Linked DNA regions of Homo sapiens: region 2 is linked to region 1. Evidence: promoter capture Hi-C in 16 types of primary human blood cells and fetal thymus (Javierre and others, 2016). All regions are on one chromosome and are shown on one strand. Each heading gives the region's core, a stretch centred on a gene start or on the middle of the fragment in contact. The rest is flanking DNA. Distances are from core to core; before and after follow the strand shown.

Evidence for each region. The method cuts DNA at HindIII sites, captures the fragments that hold promoters and counts their contacts. A CHiCAGO score of 5 or more calls a contact.
Region 2: the fragment with the promoter of ARMCX2 here is called in contact with the fragment with the promoter of TIMM8A in region 1 in 4 of 17 cell types (activated CD4 T cells, total CD8 T cells, monocytes and 1 more); the score reaches 5.7 in activated CD4 T cells.

What each region holds. Positions count from the first base shown.
Region 1 is chrX:101,347,489-101,352,186 of GRCh38, forward strand. It overlaps TIMM8A (translocase of inner mitochondrial membrane 8A), which reads right to left and starts at 1,254. Exons shown (of 2, transcript NM_004085.4): 1 at 1,045-1,254. The coding sequence starts at 1,176. BTK (Bruton tyrosine kinase) reads right to left here. Exons shown (of 19, transcript NM_000061.3): 19 at 1,962-2,468. The coding sequence ends at 2,397. RefSeq lists an enhancer at 1,176-1,225. The HindIII fragment of the contact is 777 bases long and covers 1,190-1,966 here.
Region 2 is chrX:101,658,113-101,662,729 of GRCh38, forward strand. ARMCX2 (armadillo repeat containing X-linked 2) reads right to left here and starts at 1,738. Exons shown (of 6, transcript NM_177949.4): 1 at 1,646-1,738; 2 at 1,307-1,389; 3 at 964-1,036; 4 at 349-413; 5 at 1-30. The HindIII fragment of the contact is 4,840 bases long and covers 1-1,816 here.

The sequences.
Region 1 (4,698 bases), core at 4-2,503:
TGACCTCAAGTGATCCACCCGCCTCCCAAAGTGCTGGGATTACAGGCATGAGCCACCGCGCCGGGCAGCTTACAGATTCTTGCAATAGTACTTAACCACACGCCCTCCTAGCCCCAAAGTAACGAATCACAGATATTTTTAAAAAAGAATCAAAGCACTCTGGTCCAAGGCAGACCAGAGTTAAGTAAGCATCTGGTAGGTGTCATAGTCCAGCAATACTGTAAGTTTATGGGAAAGGGCCTATGGAAACCAATGACTGTATATAGTTCAAGTTAAGTGGTTCAAAAATTTCGTTCATTATTCTCTGCCATGTACACAAGCCTCAGACCCTCTAATTCCAAGGAAAATTATCCTTGGCCTCTGAATTCTGTGAATTGTGTACATTAAGGGAGATCTGTCCTTGGCAAGCAGAACACGTTGTTGGCAAGCTGCAAATACCTTCCACCCTTTTGCCAAAGTCCCCTCACAGGGCAGGCTCAATTCCTCAACCTTCAGACCCAAAACGGCTTGGTATTACACAACAATCCAACAAGAAAGCAAATAAGTATGTACGTTGGAAGAGATTACACCACTTTTATAGTTACTGGGCTGGAGCCACTCATTTTTCAGCGGAGAGGGTTAGAACTGGGTAATGAAGGTAAATCCCGAGGAGTCCAGGAATAGCAGATTCACTGATTCACTGACTCTCTGGGACTCGGGCTGCCAAAAATAAAATCCCAGTACTGGGGGCTCCGATCAGTCTTGGTGACCAGCACTAGGCAGCTTCAACCTCGGGTGCCTGAAAGTGCTGGGTGTCCAGTGGCATAAGTCTTCTTTGATACCCAGTCCTCTACACCAACAAAGCCGAGGTCCGGAATGACAGTCCCCAGAGAAGCGGAGTCACCCTTCTCCCATCCGGCTAGGCCACAGGAACCTGAGAAAATCAAGGGTTGCTGCCAGGTGCCCGCCCCCCACCCCGAATCCCCGACGTTGTCGCGAGTCCCGCGGTACAAGGACAGAGGGAAAGTAGGTACAGTGTTCAGGTCCCAGCCCCAGGCTCCTCACCCAACAAAGTTCAGTCATCTGGTGCACCAGCTGCTGGAAGCGCTGCTTTTGAGTCTCTACCTCGATGAAATGCTGCAACTGCGGGTCCACTGCACCCAAACCCGCCGCGGAGGAAGAGGAGGAGGAATCCATCCCAGGGCGACCAAGCTTGCAGAGACGAACTCCGCACCGACCTTCACGTGTCTCCGCGACGGAACCGGAACCACAGCTAGCTGCCTCTGGGACCGCCCCCGTGAGTGCACTGCGTCGGCGCGAGGCAGGCGTCCAACTCCACCCCGCCGCCTCCCACACCTTGGCGCCGGTGCTTCGTTCCCGGAGTCGGCGGGTTCCACTCCCCGGACCCCGCAATCCCGTAACCCCGCAACCCTGCCGTTGCGCCCAGCCTTGCGCCTTGAGATCGCAGGGCTTACAGCCCAGAGCCGAGGTGCCGTTGAGATGTTACTCCAAAAAGAAAAGAAAGGAGAAAAGGAAGTTACTTCAGACCACGTGATCCATTCCGTGCTGGCCCCACAGCTCCGCCCCTGTCCACTTCCAAATTAGCCCGCGTTTTCTGAGCTACCAGAGTTGTGCACTGGGTCAGTTAGTTGACTGGGTCGATTAGTTGGCTATCCTGGGCCCCTGGCTTTCGTTTTTTGATGGAGTTTTCCTCTCCCGACGTAGGGAAATGAGGCTATGGCAGTTTGTGCCCAACTTTCAGATTCATTCAAATAACATTGCATGCGTGCTGTGACAGGCACTGTTTTTGCTTAATGCATCTTTGATTCAGAGGCAGGAGTTAACAAGAGGGCTTAAACCTGGAGGATCCTGTCGAGTTCTCAGTGTAGGAATATGCCAAACTAATGCTACACAGCAGCTTTCTGGAATACTGAGATAGGGCGCTTCAGGGAGGCTGCATGATTAATAGAGATACCAAAGACTTTCAAGCTTTCTAGTAATTTTATTTTATCAAAACACCCTCCCCTCCCATCTTTATGACACCATTTCATTCTTGCCAAATTCGGTCCACCCCCACACACACACCCCCAAGCTCTACCAAATGCCTACTCAAAGAGCTGTTGGACCCCTTTGTGCGGCTATTTACATCCTCCCTCCTAAAAAATATTTTCATCGCAAATTCAGTCTGTCTTAATTCTCTCGGGAAATTTCAGGCACAATAATTTCTTGGCCTTTGCTCAGAAGCCACTATCCCAGGGAATCAAAGAAGAGGTGCATTCCCAGATGTAGAGAGGGGCCTTTTTGTATTGAGTGGGAGCACAAAGGCTCCAGGGCTCCTAAGCTTGGGATTTCCTCTGAGAAAGTGAAATTGGGGCTTGTGGAGAAGAGAAGTAGAACCAAGAAGCTTATTGGCGAGCTCAGGATTCTTCATCCATGACATCTAGAATATTGCTCAGAAGAATTTTGAAAGTGGGACGCTCATCTGCTTTCTAAAACCAAAGAAAAAGTAAAGTGTTAGAGTGGCTAGAATCCAGAATTCAAGGGAAATGCAATGAGTAAGCAGCAAATGTTTATTAAATATATGCTCTATGCCCAGTAGCATGCCCTGTCGATTACAAAAGGAAAAAAAAAAAAAAAAGAAATAGCAGCTCTCCATAAAGTCTTTGTGCACTTTTCATCTTTAGTAACTCAGGTTATTAGTGTGATAAGAACAATTTGCAAATTAAACTGACAATCACACTGATCAAAATTGAGGGCAAGTTCATTATGTAACTGTATACAACACATTCTTATTTTGGATCCTCAAGTGAAAAATGGCTACCAAACAAGTTCAAGTGGTTGGCAGAACAGAAATCCCATGTGATAATTTTTAGTGATTAATATTTCAAAACCACAGGCTGTATTACTGAGCAGGGATTCTGAGTACCTGGGACCTTTTTTTTTTTTTTTTTTTTTTTACCACTGGTAACAAAAAGACTAAGGTTTTTTTTTTTTTTTCTTTTTGAGACAGAGTCTCACCCTGTTGTCCAGGCTGGAGTGCAGTGGTGTGAGCTCAGCTCACTGCCACCTCCCAGGTTCAAGCGATTTTCCTGCCTCAGCCTCCCAGGTAGCTGGGATTACAGGTGCACGCCATCACGCCCAGCTAATTTTCGTATTTTTAGTATAGACCGGGTTTCACCATGTTGGTCAGACTAGTCTCGAATTCCTGACCTAAGGTAATTCCCCCGCCTCAGCCTCCCAAAGTGCTGGGATTACAGGCGTGAGCCACCGCGCCCGGCCTACGACTAAGGTTCTTTTTGATGGCCATGGCCCATAAGCCCCCGAGGTATTTGGTATTTAGTGGTTCAGGGAACATTCATGCCAGAATGCTCTCAATCTGTTAGAACCAATGGTCATCAATTTCTTGATTCCTTGACTCAGTGATTCTTAAACTTAGCTGAGTATCAGAATTTCCTGGGAAGTTTAAAAAGAGATTTCTGGGTTCCACTTCAGGCATAGCTAATCAGAATTTCTGGAGAAAAGTCCCAGTTACCTGAATTTTTTTTTGTGACACAGTCTCGCTCTGTCACTCAGGCCAGAGTGCAGTGGCAGGATCTCGGCTCACTGCAACCTCCACCTCCTGGGTTCAAGTCATTCTCCTGCCTCAGCCTCCTGAGTAGCTGAGATTACAGGCACACATCACCACGCCTGGTTAATTTTTGTATTTTTAGTAGAGACAGGGTTTCACCATGTTGGCCAGAATGGTCTAGATCTCCTGACCACGTGATCCGCTTGCCTTGGCCTCCCAAACTGCTGGGATTACAGGCATGAGCCACCATGCCCAGCCAGTAATCTGCATTTTTAAGAGCTCCTTAGGGTTTCTGATATGCATCCAATTTTGACCACTCCTTTAAACAGGCTGTGGATAAAGTACCTGTCTGAAATCATTTTTAATTAGCAGAGTAAGAAGGTCCTGATTGGGAGGGAGCATAGCCAATCACCCTTAATCCTGCATCACACAGAAGAAAGAAGGAGTCCTCCCTTTCTGCACTTTCTCTGTGATCTGTCATTTGTTCGAGGGAAACCAGCCATGCTCGGATCCAGATACCCACTTTTCACCTCACCAAGAAGGCTCCAGATTCACATATGCACTTGTTGGACACTCTGAAGAGTTGAGCATTTATTTCCTACTAGAAATTTAGGTTGCCAAGGATCTACTGAAAAGTAGAGAAGGCATCTTGGGAAGAACTCGAGGTAAGAGGAGCAAAGCAGTTTAATAGTAGTAGGACAGATTTCCTTATTTCCAAAATACCACACCTACCCACATACCCCACGATGCACCATATTAAAAAGCAAAACAAAACAAAGCAAACAAAAAACCCACTACCTGTTTTAGTTCCCTTTCAAGCAGTAGGTTTTAAAAAAAATCTCATTTAGCCGGGCGCTGTGGCTCATGCCTGTAATCCCAGCACTTTGGGAGGCAGAGGCGGGTGGATCACAAGGTCAGGAGATCGAGACCATCTTGGCTAACACGGTGAAACCCTGTCTCTACTAAAAATACAAAAAATTAGCCGGGCGTGGTGGCGGGCCCCTGTAGTCCCAGCTACTCGAGAGGCTGAGGCAGGAGAATGCTGTGAACCCAGGAGGCGGGGCTTGCGGTGAGCCGAGATCACGCCACTGCACTCCAGCCTGGGCGACAGAGAAAGACTCGGTCTCAAAAAAAAAAAAAAAAAAATCTCA
Region 2 (4,617 bases), core at 488-2,987, 310 kb after region 1:
AGTTGCACAGAGCCCAAAAGGAAGACAGACCTGAGGACAGATCAGAAAGGGCGTTTTTGAGCCATTGGTGGACGAATTCTGGTTCTTTTCCTGATTTGGGCCCCTGTGGGTCAAAGGTTTTCCCCCCTCAGGGATCCTCTTTTCCTCTTCAGCCTCTCCTCCCCCAAATATTAACTAAGGCAGATGCCACGCCCCTTTCTCTGCACCAAAAAGAAAGGGCCTGGGGCAAGGGTGTCTTTGAAATTAAAAGAGAGAAGATGCAGGAGGAGCCTCTGGTCCCATACTCTACTCTTGTCTCTGCCACACCCACACCAGGGGGCCCCAGACAATTCCAACCCCAGCACTGACCCTCCAAAGATTCAAGGCTGTTTCTCCTTACTTCAGTTCAGTTAGAGCTTCATCCTAAGGACAGACTGAAGAGCAGAAATATAGACTGTCGACGTTAGACAATGAAAGCCTGGTGGATGGATCAGCATCCAGGACAAGGGTCTCAGTAACTGCCTTTTCGTGTTTGCACATCAGAATGTCAAATGATTCTACCTCTCAATTCCTTCAACTCTTCTCACCCCACCCCTCCCACCTCAATCCTCCTCCTGCGCAGGCTCCCCAGGCACTCAATCCCTCCTTCCGCTTTGCCCCGCCCCCGTCCGCCATTTCTCCAGGACACACCGCCACACCCCTTCTCCTGCAACGAAGCGGGAGGGGAGCGGGGCGAGGGTGCAGCAAAAGCTGGATGGGACGCGGTATGGGGGACTCCTGCCAAACAATTCAGTGTTCCCCTCCCAGGATCACCCATCTTTCGCTCCCCAGCCCCTAGGCCTAGCGTTAGCCTGCAGAAGAGGGGCCTCAACGTCTGCCTTTTCGGGTTCAGGGTCGAGATTTTCCACGATTTCTCTGCTATGGGCTCTACCTCCCACTTCCCACAAATCCCCCCAACAACCGCCATTTCTCCCGCCTGCATACCCGAATTCCTTTTCCAGGACTGAAAAGACGGGGGGTGAACGGCTGTGTGGGCCGGAGGTGTCTGGAAAGCAGTCTGCGAGTTAACAAGGCGGTTTAATACCAGATTCTCTCAGGGTCCGCCCCCTCCCCCCCACCTCCCGTGAAGCCCAGACAGCGCCAAACCCGCCACCTCTCCAACAGCAGCTGGTACACCCATTTCCCAGCACTCCCAAATCACAGAGGGTCGGCTGGGGGATGGGAGGGTGCCGGGGCGGTGGTGGGGAAAGTCAGGGTGGGAGTGTGCCGCCCAGATTGTTACCAAATTGCATGCCCCACCCCCGCCTCCTGGTTACCCTTTCCCAACCTCCCTGCTGGCCTTCTATGCGCTGCCACGTTTATTTCTCTTCCCTCCTCCTCTCAAAACAGGACGGAATGTGGGGTGCGGGCCTGAATATTATAAACAAAACCAAAAAACACTGGCTGGAAAGGAAGTAAGCGGATTCTTCGTAAAGTCTATCAAAAGTCTTTTCGTTTCCCCCTCCCCCTTTCCCCACCGCCCACCAAAATGAGCCGCGTTTGAGCACCTCAGGTCTGGAAAGCCGGCCAGGAGTGGGGGAGACCGAGGCACCCGCGGCCTCCGACTCCCGCATCCCTAGATTACCCCTATTCAGGGGTCCCAGACTGTGCCCACCCTCACACCCACCTGCCCGAATCTGGGGGAATTTTCTCCTCCTCCTCCTCGCCTGGGTTAAACGCACGGCAGCGAGCTGCGCAATAGAGTTGGTACCCAGAGGAGGACGGAGAACGACGGTCAGGGCTTTAAGTACCTTTGCCCACGTCAGCTCCTGGTCACGTGAGGGCTGCATCGCCAGTAAGCTTGGGTCCCCAATTTCCACTCCCACCAAGAGTACGAGCCCCCTCCTTTACTTCCATTCCCATCTCACCCCACCACATCAGGTCCTGTCACTCATTTTTTTGTCTTTGTAGTCCTGGAGGCCTAAAGTAGCCCCTTCTCCCTGCTTTCACAATTTGCCTTTCTCTGGTTACCTGGGAGGGGCTGCATCTTCTCGGAGGGCTACTGAAAATTTTTACTTTTTTGTTGGGGAATTGTTTCATCCTTTCCTGGGCTACTGGACACTCTTCCATCTCTCCACCTCTAGTTCCTCAGCCCCTAGTCCCCAGGATTTTCCTTGCAGTTGACTCCCTGTTCCAGTATAGTTAAGGGGCAGAGTGTCAGAAAGGAGACAAGGAGTGGGAGTGGGGTCTGTACTTCTCAAATACTTCTGTTTTGTTTTCAAAACTATCATCATGCTTTATTTTTATAGTAAGAAAATTCAGTAAAACAAGAATTCAATGTGGGAAGTAGCAACAAAAAAAGGGTGGGCATGTTTTGTAAAGAAAAAAGGTTTCCTGCGTCCATTGGAAAGCACCATTAATTTTGGTTAATTTTTACCGAATAGAACATGAATTCTTTTGGTCACATAGGAAATAGTTTTTAAAATATGCTAAGGTATTTGAACATCTAAAATGGAATATTTCTCAATAAGATAAGCATATTTCCATGTGATCTGTAAATTGATCCACAGAGAGATGTTCAGTTCTTCAATCTTGTTTATTTTGGACAAATAATACGCTACTTTTTTCTCCTTCTGGGACAGCTTTTAAGTTGCATAAATAAATGATCCTGTCTTGTCCTGTTAGAGAAACACATTTATTTAATATTCCCAAACCATTGCTGACTGCTGTGTGTGAACCTCCTGTAATTTGATGGCTGTAACCATGACAGTTTTAAACACCTGTCTTCGGATTAGGTTCCAGTTAATGATTCAACTCTGGGCAAAAGGAAGAGCTGTGAGGCCAAGGAAACTGAGTGTGGTGGGTGCAGAGTGGTCAAATCCTCCCTGCCCTGTCAGGAGGAGGAGGGAGATGCTGTCTCTCTACTCCCTCCCATATGCCAGAGCCGCTCATCTCCTGCATTCAGGTACCTGGCTCAGTTGCTCACACCCAAAATATATCCAGACAAGTGACCAAGATGCAGACCTGGTTAAATGTCTTTGGCTCTTTCCGTCCCTCCCCCAAGTTCCCAGAGGAAACCCATTGATGCATAGAAAGGATTGCTGTTCTTACCTGACCCTGCAGCTGACGATTTGTGAAACCTGTGATTTCACAAAAAGGTTTTTGTGATCACACAAAAAGTGATTGTTGGGGGAAGTTCCCAGGCCTGACTGCTGTCTGTCCTTATTCGTGGTTACCAGTGAACCTTGCTCCAAACACTGTCTGCTACTACCACTTGGCCTAAGAGATGCATCCTCCTGGGCCTCTCACTTCTGCCTCCTTAGCTCCAGGGGACCTAGGAAGAGTCTAGCCTTCCTGCAAGGTTACTGCCTGCCAGTACACATCCACCTTGGTGCCCTCTCAACCAAATGTATGCCCAGGGAACAATCCCCACTGATGAACCCAGAGTAGGTGTTCTCACCCGGTCAACTCTGTAGACCACCTGAAATTGCATTCACCTGCAAAGCTTTGTTTGGGATTATATGTGTGGTTAAATGCATTTTTTTCAGGAACAGAGATCACTGACCTCATCAGTTTCTCAAGGGGTCTGTAACCCCCGCCCTGCAAAAAATTAAGAGCTAATACAATGGCCAAGAGGGTCTGTGTTATATATATATAATAGTCCAGATTAGGAATCTTGTATTTTGTTCTGGTAATACAAGTATTATATATTAGTGGTTAAAAATATTCAAAACAATAAGGAAATATATAAAGTATACAGGGAAAGAAACTTTTGTTATCTTTTCCACTCCCAGCCACTGTCAACAGTTTCCAACTTTCTTTTTAGACACATTAGTAGTGCGTTTGTGCTTATTAATCAAGTTCCAAATTTTTGTGATCTGTTTTATTAATTCTAATTTAAAGTGATACCTTTGGTTTATCTTGGTATTATATATAATCATTTGTAAATGATGATTTTTCATTTCTTCCTTTCCAACATTTATGCCCCCTTTTCTTTCTTCTTCTGCATGAGTCATTCTTGGTTAAATTAGACATAAACGAAAATATCCTTAACCTGATGAAGAATATATCAGAAGTTCTTCTGATCTGGCAGATTCGTCCCTCCCTGTGGTCTACCAAGATCACAGAACTTAATGACTGGCATTGACTAGAACTTCCTTACGAGCCTCCTGATCTTGTTCTTGAAGACAGTGGGAATGCCTCTTTTGTTTCATTATTTAGTATAACTTTTGTTGTTTGTGATTGATGTATTTTTTTTTCAAGGCTAATTTCACTTATGTTTACTAGTCCCTCTCTTTCTCTCTGTCGCACGTGCACACACACACGTAGTACAAAGAAATACTATCAGTGAATGGAGGCAAGTCATTAAGTTCTGTAATCTTGATAGTCCAGAGAAAGGGATGAATCTGCCAGATCAGAAGAGCTCCTGATATCTTCTTCATCAGGTTAAGGATATTTTCTTTTATATCTAATTTAATTCATCTAAGAACGACTCATTAAATTACGTATAATTCTTTACTACATAAATGAAGTTCCCTCTTATTCCTATTTTACTTTTTTTTTAAATTAGGAATGGTTACTTATTTTATCAAATGCTTTCATTATGAGGTTTCTTTTCTTCTTTGGTTTGCTGTTGTCAGGAATGATGTAGACAGGCCA